2 separate regions of the Homo sapiens genome follow, and region 2 is linked to region 1. The links are contacts of gene promoters, found by promoter capture Hi-C in human tissues and cell types (Jung and others, 2019). All regions are on one chromosome and are shown on one strand. The core of a region is centred on a gene start or on the middle of the fragment in contact, and the rest is flanking DNA. Distances in the headings are between cores, read along the strand shown.

Evidence for each region. Contacts are between HindIII fragments. The study calls those that stand out against the background at their distance.
Region 2: a fragment that was not itself captured here is called in contact with the fragment with the promoter of NALCN in region 1 in 1 of the 25 tissues and cell types used here (aorta).

The regions. Positions count from the first base shown.
Region 1 is chr13:101,413,726-101,419,493 of GRCh38, forward strand. It overlaps NALCN (sodium leak channel, non-selective), which reads right to left and starts at 2,783. Exons shown (of 44, transcript NM_052867.4): 1 at 2,588-2,783. RefSeq lists enhancers at 1,584-2,134, 2,135-2,685. The HindIII fragment of the contact is 15,657 bases long and covers 1-5,768 here.
Region 2 is chr13:101,760,527-101,767,137 of GRCh38, forward strand. All of the region lies in intron 3 of FGF14 (fibroblast growth factor 14), which reads right to left. Among named protein-coding and RNA genes, the nearest start is that of FGF14, 150 kb to the right of the region's middle. The HindIII fragment of the contact is 3,406 bases long and covers 2,699-6,104 here.

The DNA of each region.
Region 1 (5,768 bases), core at 1,533-4,032:
TTGGTTACTTTAAAATTCAAAAAATCAATTAAAAAAATTTAAGCATTTGCATAGAGTTTGAAGGTATGAAAATCTGTGCTGGTCCTTGAGACAGGCGAGAATTGTATAACATGAGTGAAGCTCTAAAATGTTGATAACATTTTGGGACAGGGGCATTCTTTTTTTATTTTTAAACAGAGTCTCACTCTGTGCCCAGTCGCCCATTCTAGAGTACAGTGGTGCCATCATAGCCTGCTGCAGCCTTGACATCTCTGGGCTCACGCGATCCTTCCACCTCAGCCTCCCAAGTAACTGGGGCTACAGGTGTACACCACTACACTTGGTGAATTTTTTTTTTTTTTGTAGAGACGGGGTTTCACCATGTTGCCCAGGCTGGTCTGGACTCTTGGGTTCAAGCAATAGGCCTGCCTTGGCCTCCCAAAGTGCTGGGATTATAGGCATGAGCCACCGTGTGTGGCCTTGGGGACCATTCTTAATATGTTTAAGCTCACTATCATAGTTTCCACAGCAAAACTAGAAAATAAGACATCTCACTGTATATCCACCTGCTTACATATTTGTCTTTCCTGAAGGATTCTTAGGCTCTCAGTTTATCTCTTTTTCTCACTCACCACCCAGCTTCTGGCCCAGTGCTTAGCTTATCTTAGGATATAGAGGTGTAGATGTGAATTTTCATTCACAAACTTGAAATCCACATGTGACTCTGACCTGGGATAAATTTATACAGCTATGGAAATTCTGAAATTATCTGAACATCATCGATAAATGATAAAACAAATGTGTACATTTGTGTATACACATACATGCACACACAAAGCATGCCGGAATGATAAAATCACCTGGAAACCATTTCAAAGAAATGCCATACCCAAGAAGAAGAAAATGCTACTCAAATCTTCAGTTCACTAAATTGCAACTAAATGACACTATTTTGAGTAGACTTTTTTTAAGTACATTTTTTAAGTACATTTCTCCTTTGAATATCTTGCAAGTCCTATCCAAAGTTATAAGTGTACAACCACTATTTTATAAGACATGCTTTCTCCTAGAGTTCTGTAGAGATTTTAGCATAGTCCTTATCAGTGACGGCACATTTATTCTGCAAACAGATTATGTCTTCTATGAACACAGAAGAGGATCCAACTGAACCTTTTCACTTTTTAAGTTTTTCTCCAAAGCTGGATTTTGTCTTCACACTGTCTGGTTTTAGCAGTGGCTAGGTCAAAGTATACTACAGAAGAACGAAAAATCGACTCTAGAAAAGCACGCAGAATGACAGCCAACCAGTTAGGGAGTAAATGTTTCTCGTTGCAGATGTTTGGGAAGCCATGATTTTTATTTAGAACTGTGGAAACCTTATCTTTGAATTTAAAAAGCCAGTCCTGAGATGCATCTGCCTCAGGGGTAACTACCATAGTGAAACCGCTCCTCTCCCAGGCCATATCAAATCACAGTTGTAGTTATGAACATACAAATCACACACATATATATATATATATACATACATATATATTTCAAAATCGCCACCTGTTAATTTTTGATCCCCTATTAGAGGTGTTATCCACCAACTACTAACACGAAGGTCACTGGTCCTCAACCCACATTTCACCACCAGGGCAGTCGGGCCTAGCTGATGACCACACGAACACCAGATTAAGAGTAAAACCTTCTGAGGCCTGAAAGTGAGCGTGTATTCACACATCCTTAATAATACAGTGTCTGAAAAATTGTACCTGAAACTGAAAGATTTATTCTAAGGTATTTCAAGCACTAAGGGTCTGAGTTCAGCATTCTCACACCATCCTGAAAGAGGAACATTAAGTCAGCAAAATGACTGCGATCTGGGCCCCCAGAGGGATCCCAGCCAGGCCATCCTTGCTGGTGTCTTAAAGATTCAGTGACAAAATGGTGTTGCTTGGCAGGACACTGTTTTGCGTTCGGTGTAGCCACCCTAATGACGGCTGCTTAACAAGGCCAATGAATATCATAAGGGACATTTAGCAAGGAGCAATCCACAGGAGCATGGGGGTGGGGCAAGGCCGCGGAGCCCCCGCGGAGACCTGCTGGAGCCAGGCTGCCCACCCCCACCTCCCCACCCGCGCGTTGGCCCAGAGGTTTACCCAGGCAGCGGCCCTGGTGCCGAGGGGGCAGGTGCAGCGCTGTAGTGATGCCCAGTGGCCTCGTCCTCAGCCACCTGCCCCCCAACACCTGCTAGATGCCCAGGCGGGGCAGGCCCGAGGTGTCGCCGGCCCTGGGCTTCCCAAGCCAGCCCAGGGGCATCCCGCGGCAGGCGCCCCCGACACCCACGCGCAGGAATAGGGAGGGCGCATCGCGGCTCCCGCGCCCCGGCCAGGCCGGCAAGGACCCCACCGCCCCGCTCTCGGGTGGAGGCGCCCCTCCCCACCCCTCCCCCGCGCGGGGCCCCCGCCCGCAGCCCCTCTAGCAGCCCCTCTCGCAGCCCCAGCGCCCCTGAGCCGTCCTGGCCCGGACCGGCCAAGGAACTAACGAGCGCGCATCGCGGGCCTCGGGCGCAGGGCACGGAGCCGGCCGCGCCGCAGCCTCCCGGGCACCGGCGGCGGTGACCAACCTGTAACCCCAGCGCTCAGAGCTGTCATGGTGCCCGCGGGCGGCGGCGGCGGCGACAGTGGGCGACCGGCAGGATCAGTGCCAGGCGCGGCGCCCAGGGCGGGCGGGGACGCGGGCCCCTCACCTACGGCGGCTCAGCTCAGGCAGCGCGCTCGGCCCGGCTGGGGCCGCGGCTCACGCTCGCCGTGTCACTCACTGAGCGCCGCCGCCGCCGGGCAGGCTGGGGGAGGGGTGGGAGCCGGAGTTTTCGGGCCTTTAAAAAATTATTATTTTATTTAAATTTTTAAAGTTAGCTTTGCTACAGGGACTGCAGTGATGCCGAAGGGCGGGCACCGCAGAGGAGGCTGCGCCGCAGTTGGTGGGGAGCGCCAGGGTCGGTACTGGCAGTTCCTTCTTGCCGGCTGCCACCCGCAGTCAGTCTCACAGCAACAGCTAGGCTCTCATCTGCGAGCTCCTCTCGGGGGTCTTTCGTACTCAACAGCACGGCGGCGGTGTGCACGGGAGTCCGCCGGGCACACGCGGGGTACACTTAAGTGCACTGCCAGGAGGCCGGGAGCCCAGCGTGCGAGCGTGAGGTCAGACTGTGCACGGTACCGAGGACTAGTTCCATTCCTGAGTATGAAAGGGTGAAACCGTTCACCTCAAGTTTCACCCCGGAGTTATTAAATAATGAATGCATCAGTCACACTTATAGTTTTCTAAATAGGTTGACGTTCGCCTTTAAAATTAAAATATGTTGTCGTGTGGATGAGACAAAGTCTATTCAGAAATTGACAGTCCCCCACCCCATACCCTGTGAGTATACCTGGACAGCAGACTGCATCTGAGGCTTCCTAGGGCTCCCAGCAGAGCAGGTTTAGGGAAATCTGGCCTCCTAAGCACCATGCCCAGGGCGACATCCTCCCACTCATTCCCACTCTCTGAAAGGTTTACTTTGGGTCTGGAATCTTGCCATGTAGTCAGATACGAAAATCCCCAGGGAACTCCTGACCAGTGATTTAGACATCATGCACACAGGCATATAAATAAAGGGAAAGAAACAACTGAATGAAGCTTTCTCTACAAGAGAAATTCTAAACAAAGAGCATTTGTCTATCACAAAATGTTATGTGGCAAGGTATAGAAGTAAAACTACACAAACCTACATTTTAAAAATGTATTTTCTGGTTACAGATATTTAATTAATCTACTTTCTTAAAAAGTCCATTCACAATTTGTTCACATTCATAATCCATATTAGTACGTTTTATTGTTTACAGGGAAATGTTAAAATATTGGTATTTCATGAAATACAGAGTCATGCGAGATAATTTTTCAAATTTCTAAAGACTTCAGAAAAACTGTGTCAAAAGCCAGGTTTTAAACAAATGATGAAATCACTCCTCATAAGAAAAAATTGACAGTAATTTAAACAATGCTAAATCTACAACCAGTTTGCTTAGAAAAAGTATTTACCAACTTGTTTCATCATCTTTATTTGCGGCTTTCAATTGCTTGTTCTAAATACTAGTTTATTTCACAAACTGAAATATATAGCTATATATATATGGTAGCTGAATGATAGTGTGTTATTCCTTGACATTCGTTCGAATTATCTGTTAGTAAATTATATTAAGGAAATATTTAAACATTTATTTATAATGTTTTGAAGTGGTCAAGGCAGTGATTTTTTACTAATCTCAGTGCCACTCCTCACCCAACAGGCATTTCAGACCTTTCTCTGTCCTTGGTTGAACTACCTCTGTTAAGTCTCTATAATTCATGCTCATGAGCCAAACAATCCCAATGATGATGGAGACAGTCTCAGAGAATTCATGGGCTTCAAGGAAGTCATGGAATCCAGCACACTCATCCTATAATGCATAGGGATTCACTGTGTATTGGAGTAGACAATCATTTTAAAAAACAGGTACATCCAAAATATCATAGTACCCCTTCTACCTGCTCAGTATCTCTCTTCTTTTGTTTTCTTTGTTATTTTTAGAGACAAGGCCTATCTCCGTTGCCTAGCCTGGAGTGCATTGATGTGATTATAGCTCACTGCATCCTCAAAGCAAAAGTAGAAAGGATGAACAAATATCTTTTCCAGGTTGAATTGGCCCTGTAACTACATTCATTGCTGGAATCCAGTAAAAGTCAATTGCTGGCCTGTGGGTTCAATATAAACTGAGAATATAATTCAGGTGTGTTTTGTATGACTCAATGTATATTGTTGACAAATTAAGATCAATTACCAACATTTGAAAACCACAAGAATTTTATTTTATCAGGAAAAATAGGAAGATATGGATAACAGGCAGCCTCCACCATGCCCAGCTAATTTTTGTATTTTTAGTAGAGACGGGGTTTTGCCATGTTGGCCAGGCTGGACTCGAACTCCTGACCTCAGGTGATCCACCCACCTTGGCCTCCCAAAGTGCTGGGATTACAGGCGTAAGCCACCATACCTGTAGGAGTCTGAGGCATGACAATCACTTGAACTGGGGAGGCAGAGGTTGTGGTGAGCTGAGATTGTGCCACTGCACTCCAGCTTGGTTGGGTGATAGAGTGAGACTCCGTCTTGAAAAAAAAAAAAGGAAGGAAGATCTGGCCAGGTCAGTTCTGCATTCCCAAGTGGTAGGGGGCCAATAGGGGCATCCTGTGCCTCCCATAGGTGGGCATATACTTCCCATTTGCCTCCATGTCCCCAGCCTGCTTCAATTCCTGGCCCTGGAAGGTGTTTGCATGTAGGAGCCTATACAATTAAATCTGTATTTGACGGTATGAGATTGGGGAAAGGATAATGTCAAACACAGAGAAAGCAGTCAATACAGAAAGTTTTACAATAAAGAGGATGAAGCCAAGCCAATGCACAACCAAGATAGTAGTAGCCTTTGGTTTAAATGAAATTGTGTTCATGGTCCTGCAAGTGCTTTGGAATGGATGTGATATCATTTGTCTGTGTCCCCATCCAAATCTCATCTTGAATTGTAGCTCCCACAATTCCCATGTGTTGTAGGAGGGACCTGGTGGGAGATAATTGAATCATGGGGGCAGTTTCCCCCATACTGTTCTTGTGGTAGTGAATAAGTCTCATGGGATCTGATGGTTTTATAAGGCCCTTTCTCTTGGTCTTCATTTTCTCTCGTCTGCTGCCGTGTAAGACGTGCCTTTCGCCTTCCACCATGACTGTGAGGCCTCCC
Region 2 (6,611 bases), core at 3,152-5,651, 350 kb after region 1:
CAAAGAACTGTTCATGCTGTTCCCTTGATCAAAAGCCGTCAGTGGCTCCCCATCCCTTAAACTGCTTTTGGCATGTGATACTCTGAAATTGCCTTAACCAACCACCTCATCCATCCATGTACTCATTCAAATGGTAACAAGTGCTTACTGAGCATCTATTGCATGCTGATCACCTGATATAGTATTTTCTTTAATTCCTTCCAGCCTCCCTGGTATTCCCCGTCTTGCTTCCATTACTTTATTTTTCTCTTCCCAATACCCACTGATTTTTGAAACTTATTTGTTTATGATCTGTCTTCTTCCACTGGAATGTAAGTCCTAGAGTAGCCTACAACAGGTAGACAATGAGCATTTGTCTAATAAATCTAAAGCATTTAAAAATATTCAAAGTCAGCAGGCTTAATATTTTGTAGAATTAATTACTCTCTTGAAGGATGAAAAAAAAAGTATTACTTCACCTAAATACCCTATTAAAAATTTAATCCTTGGATAAAATTCTAATACAGTAATCTTACTTTTCAAACCAAAATATTAATTAGGCACACTTCTTCTCCAATTCCATTTACTAACAAAGGTTATAAGGCCCAATGCCTTAAATTAGAGACATTTGTCATAGTAAAACAACAAAATAATGCTATGTGATTCTATGTAGTTTACATGTAAAAATAACTTTTAGCTTTATATAATTTGCGAACCTTCAAATAAATCACAGAATATGCAGGAGAAAACACAAACCAGATTCTTTAACTTATATACTGCCTAAAAATGAGGAAAAATGAGACATAATGACACACATAGATAGAGATTTTCTTGCTAGTTGGAAAACTCAGATGAGAAAGTTATACCACAATCTATGTTGTATTTTGGGGTATTTTAAAGACCACAGTGACTGCTGCCTGTCACTTGGCCAGTCAGGGGAAAGTTCAAAACTTGGACCCCACGTGACTGTGGGTCTCTGTCAGCAAGTCCCCTTCTACTGTTCTGAGGCATGCAGAAAGGTCGACTATAGACAAATGCTTATTTAGGTTTCTTGGTCAAGTTAGCAGCAATGACTATAGTTAACAATAATATATAGTTTCAAAGAGCACCAAGGAGGATTTGAATGTTCCCTACACGAAGAAATAATAAATGTTAGAGATGATGGCTAGGCTAATTACCTTGATCTGATCACTGTACACTATATATAAAAACATCACTATGTACTCCATGAATATATACAATTATGATTTGTCAATTAAAAAATTAAACATTACAATTTATCAAGAAAACAACGCTTGTCCTCACTAATGGCAGTTGGGTAGGCATTTCTCTGCCATTATTCAGTTCATAATCTAATGGCTTAAAATCACAATTAAAGGCTCCCATCTCTGGGAACACAAACCAACACAAGAGTCCCTAAGAGAGAGGCCGCCAGGGAGTTAGAATTGGACAGGAACCAGCTAATTCCAGCCCTTTTTGATTCTGCTGATTTTGATATCTGAATACTAAGCAGTATAGGTTGATGATCTGTGTAGCAACCATGTGAGGTACTGTGCTGTGCTGTGAGTAGCCTGCTCCATTGATAGAGACTTAATAAACTTGGTAAAGCCAAAATCCAAATGGTAGGAGCATTTTGTCTGATTTCTAGTAGCACTGTTAAACATGCTTTGGAAAAGCTTGGAGGGATGTGTGCCTATGTGAAAGAGGGTTAAGCTACAGAATGCTGCAGTAAATCTTGCCTGGCAATGCAATATTTTGAAATAGCAAGACACAAATATGAAATTGGCAATATATGCCTTCAGCTGGATAAGTGTTTCAGTGAATTCTTCTAACCCCATTGTGCAAAATCCCAACCTTCGGACCGAGTTTAAGATTCTAAACAAGAAACTCACACATTTATTATATCAAAAATACCTTTGTCAGGGGCATTATATTCAAGTAAATCAAGCAAAGGCATAATTGTCCTTCTCACTCTATCTGCTTTGAGCTATCCATTGAAAGACTAACAGGAAATATATACTTAGGTAATACATATAAATATAATAACAATTCAGTCAGTTGTTGTTGGTCTGAGTGATTATGTAACGTGGGTCAAGAAATGAAACAATATGGCAAAACCAAAATAGCTGGCCCATCGGCATTGCTGCAAATGCTCCCTTAGTTGAATGGAGATAACCATAGTTCAATCAAAATAATTGTAAGTTTGCCATCTTTCTTTACACTTCAGTATTAAATACCTGCTGGGAACCTGAAATAGGCCAGTTTTCCTTGAACTGTATGGAATTAGCAATTGTCACATTTCATTTTTCCAAATCCGTATCATGTCAAATCCTACCTCCCATGGTGTCACATTTTTCCCTCTTGCCCAGAGGAATATTTTCATGCTAGTCAGTAGGTTGTATTTAGGCAGGCTCTGACACTGCCATAGGGAATATCAGTGCTGCACCAAACACACACCCTGCCTCCAGCATCCAGCCTTCAGCCCCATCATAAAAAGGTCAGACGCCATCTTTCAGACCACTAACTGCCATTTCTCTTTATCATCACAAGGAAAGGCAAACATAGGGTTTGTTGGAAGTGTGTAGAATGCACAGAAGTAAGCAAATTTGGCCTAATGAGTTTGGCAGGGTTGGAATTAGAGAGAATAGAGTGTGATGAAGTGAAAGGCACAGCACAGAGACCTGTGATTACAGTTAGAAACACCATTTTACCTGTGACAAAGTCAAAGATCACAACATTCTCCAGTCAGTCATCCCCAGCTGTGGTTAGGCCAGCTGTAAGGCAAGGGGTGCTCTCTGTAGCACTGATTGGCATAAGATTGGTTGTCTCAGGTGGCTGGAATGTACCACTGTCAATATGTAATGTACTCAACCCATGGGATGGAATGAACAGTATTTTAAGGACCTAGTTCTTTTTTTCCTAATAAGGAAATACCACTTTAATGACAAGATTGAGACAGGCATAGTGAAGGAACTTTGTGTGTGGAGACATCAGGAGTGAAATTTGGTCCTGTATTTATGCATTTCCTTTTCCTCTCTAGCGTTAATTTGAGGTAAGAAACTTAACTTCCTGGCTGGGCATGGTGACTCATGCCTGTAATCCCAGCACTTTGGGAGGCCAAGGCAGGTGGATCACCTGAGAGTAAGGAGTTTGAGACCAGCCTGACCAACATGGTGAAACCCCATCTCTAGTGAAAATACAAAAACTAGCCAGGTGTGGTGATGCACACCCGTAATCCCAGCTACTTGGGAGGCTGAAGCAGGAGAATGGCTTGAACCTGGGAGGCGGAGGTTGCAGTGAGCCGAGATTGCACCACTGCACTCCAGCCTGGGCAACAAGAATGAAACTCTGTCTCAAAAAACAAACAAACAAACAAACAAAACTTAACCTCCCCAGAGCAGCAGATTGAGACTGGCATGGTGAAGGAGCTTTGTGTGTGGAGACATCAGGAGTGAAATTTGGTCCTATATGTATGCATTTCCTTTTCCTCTCTAGTGTGAATTTGAAGTAAGAAAGTTAACCTCCCCAGAACAGCAGCTGACCAAAGTGGCAGAAGCTAGTAAGAAGTCTGTCCCCTGGGGCACAGGGATCCATCACTGACACTGTTAAGAATTGTTGGCACTGAGTGGAAATAAAAAGCACGGTAAATTTTAGTTGGTTTTATTATTCTTATTTTAATACTCTGATTCCAATATACTTTCTTGTTGGCTGAACCCTGGGATAGTTTCCGCTGACCCTCTGCCCCTGCTGGAGGTCTCTAAGCTTCAGTTCACTGATTTGCGTATGGCAATTTCAGCATCTGCTCCTACTACCCCACAGAATTGTGAGGATCAAGGTAGTAATGGGTGAGAAAGTGTTCTGTAATTGTCAAGCAAGTTGCGCAGTTAAGCACATGATTATCTGAGGTGTGGAGCAGAGTGAATGTGATGGAAAATTGAACCTCACTGGTGATCTCCCAACTCTGTCTTTGCTCTTGCTTTAGAATTATTTTCCCTAACCCACAAGTGTTGCAGAAAAGGGGCGATTAACAACAAAATGAGATTCACTAGTTTGAGCATCAGCTTGTTTCTTCACTCTCCCTGCTTATTCTGAGCAGTTTCTCAAGCTTGGCATGATTGGCCTTTTGGGCCATGTCATTCTTTGTCATAGGGCTATCCCATACGATGTAGGCTTAGTGGGATTCCTGGTCTCTACCCAGAAGATTGCACCTCCCCCACCACACCCAAGCTGTGACACAATGGCAAGAGGTACTGAAGTTAAGGAAGCCGGAAAATTTTCAAATAGTCTTTATTTCCAAATAGTCTCAAATGTACTTTTCATAAAGCAACCAATTCTGAATTTTAAAACAGCTTGTATGGAGTTGAATTTGACCTTGGATGAGAATTAGCATTTTAATATACCACTAAATGATAGTGATCCCACTGGGTTGAATACGAAAATCACTCAAGGACTGTAACTTCCCCCATCTAGAGTCTCTATGTGTTTGTCATAAAGTCATGCTTTATGCACACAATAGATCAGAGGCATTTTGTGAGCAAGGAGCTCTCCTTGTCCCATTTTGATTTGGTTCATATATTCTACAACCTTTATATGAAAGCAATATCAAAGGATGACTTAGGTCATCATGACTACATCAGGACAATGATAATACTCTGCCTCTGGCACATATATTCCTTCTCTTAATTCTGCTCTTTCTCCTCCCTACTTTATATTTCAGTTGTCAGATATTAGAGTTGACAAGCTAATGAAAATTGAATTGACTACTAAAAAACTCACACATACAAAGATAGAGAAATTACTTGAAAATTCCCTGTTTGGGTCAATTCAATGCAGACCCTTGCTTGGCTGCAACTGTAAACCCATCCAGCCTCTAAATGGCATTACTCTACAACTGACAACATTGGTCCCTGGGAACACTGCCATAGATTAGGTTAATAGTGGTAAAAAGATGCCTTGCTGTCTCTCACAAATTGTGCTAGAAGACAATGATGGCCTCCATGGAGGCAAGCAGGTGAACTGATTGCTTAGGGAAATCTCAGAATTGGTTCGTTATACCTTCCTACTCTTTCCTTTATAGAATCTTTACTTGCCAAATATGTATTTCATGCTACAGATTCATACAGTTGTGAAATGAAGACCACATAAGAGAATCAATATGTGAAACAAATCCTCTGTGCATATAGAAGCCTTTTATTTATTATTATTATTATTATTTTATTTATTTATTTATTTATTTATTTTGAGACGGAGTCTCGCTTTTGTCGCCCAGGCTGGAGTACAGTGGTGCGATCTCGGCTCACTGCAACCTCTGCTACCTGGGTTCAAGCTTCTCCTGCCCTCAGCCTCCTGAGTAGCTGGGATTACAGGCACCTGCCACCATACCCAGCTAATTTTTGTACTTTTAGTAGAGACGGGGTTTTGCCATGTTGGCCAGGCTGGTCTCAAACTCCTGACCTCAGGTGATCTGCCCACCTTGGCCTCCCAAAGTGCTGGGATTACAGGCATGAGCCACTGTGCCTGGCCAGCCTTTTACTTCTTAAACAAATCTATGGAAATCACACTTCTCAAAATTGTGAGCCTCAATAATTTGGAAAACCGGGCTTAATAATCATTAATCCTCATCTACAATTTTATAACCAGAAACTGTACTAGCTGGAATGATATCATTCAGGTGCAAGATATTTGATGTGAGTATGAAATGCCAATATTTTAAAAAATGAATTGCATAGTTCCATCAAGTCAAGGCACGTGTGTGTTTCCTCATGATGTCCATGGAGGCAGAAGTCACAACCTTCTCTTTTTCTTCCTCTCTTCCTTTTTTCCAATTCTTACTACGGGCTTCCATGAGCTAAAAATTGGTTGGTGTTCACATAGAGACCTGAATAAGTCAACTCCCTGCCCTCCAGGATTGCACAGACAATAAGAGGAAGCAGATATTTATTTAGCAGACTCTTGCAATATGTTGTTAGGGGCATTATGACAGAAGGGAGCAAAACAGGCAAAATAGACACAGAAGATATGGGAGGAAGGAGTTCTCAGAAGAGTGTTGAACAGCATCAAAAGCAGTGGAGAAGTTGAGTAATATGAGTGCAGTACTGGGCTGAAGAGTGTCCTCCAAAAATCCATGTCTACCTGGAACTCTGAATATGACTTTATGTGGAAATGTGGTCTTTGCAGATGTAATTAGTTAAGTTTACTTTAAATAAGGTCATAGTAGTTTAGGGTGGGCCTAAATCTCATGACTGGCATCCATATAAAAAGAGGAGACACATGGGGCAAAAACACACACACAGGGGACACCATGTGAAGGCAGAGGTAGAGATTAGGGTGATGCGTCTACAAGCCAAGGAATGCCAGGCACCTCCTGGGAATGAGGAGAGAGGCATAGAACTGATTCTCCTTCAGATCCTTCAGAAGGCACCCACTATAAATAATACAGGTAGTTTTCCTGTATTATGCATAATAGTCTTAAATAGTCTTAACTAGGCTTTAAATGCAATTAATCACTAATTTGTAATGTTTGTCTGTTTATTCTCTCAATTTATATTGACAAGAGATAAAATAAGAATAACAATAAAATAAAAGCTCTCCTCAAAGAAGTCTGAATTATCGTAGGCCTTTACATATCACAT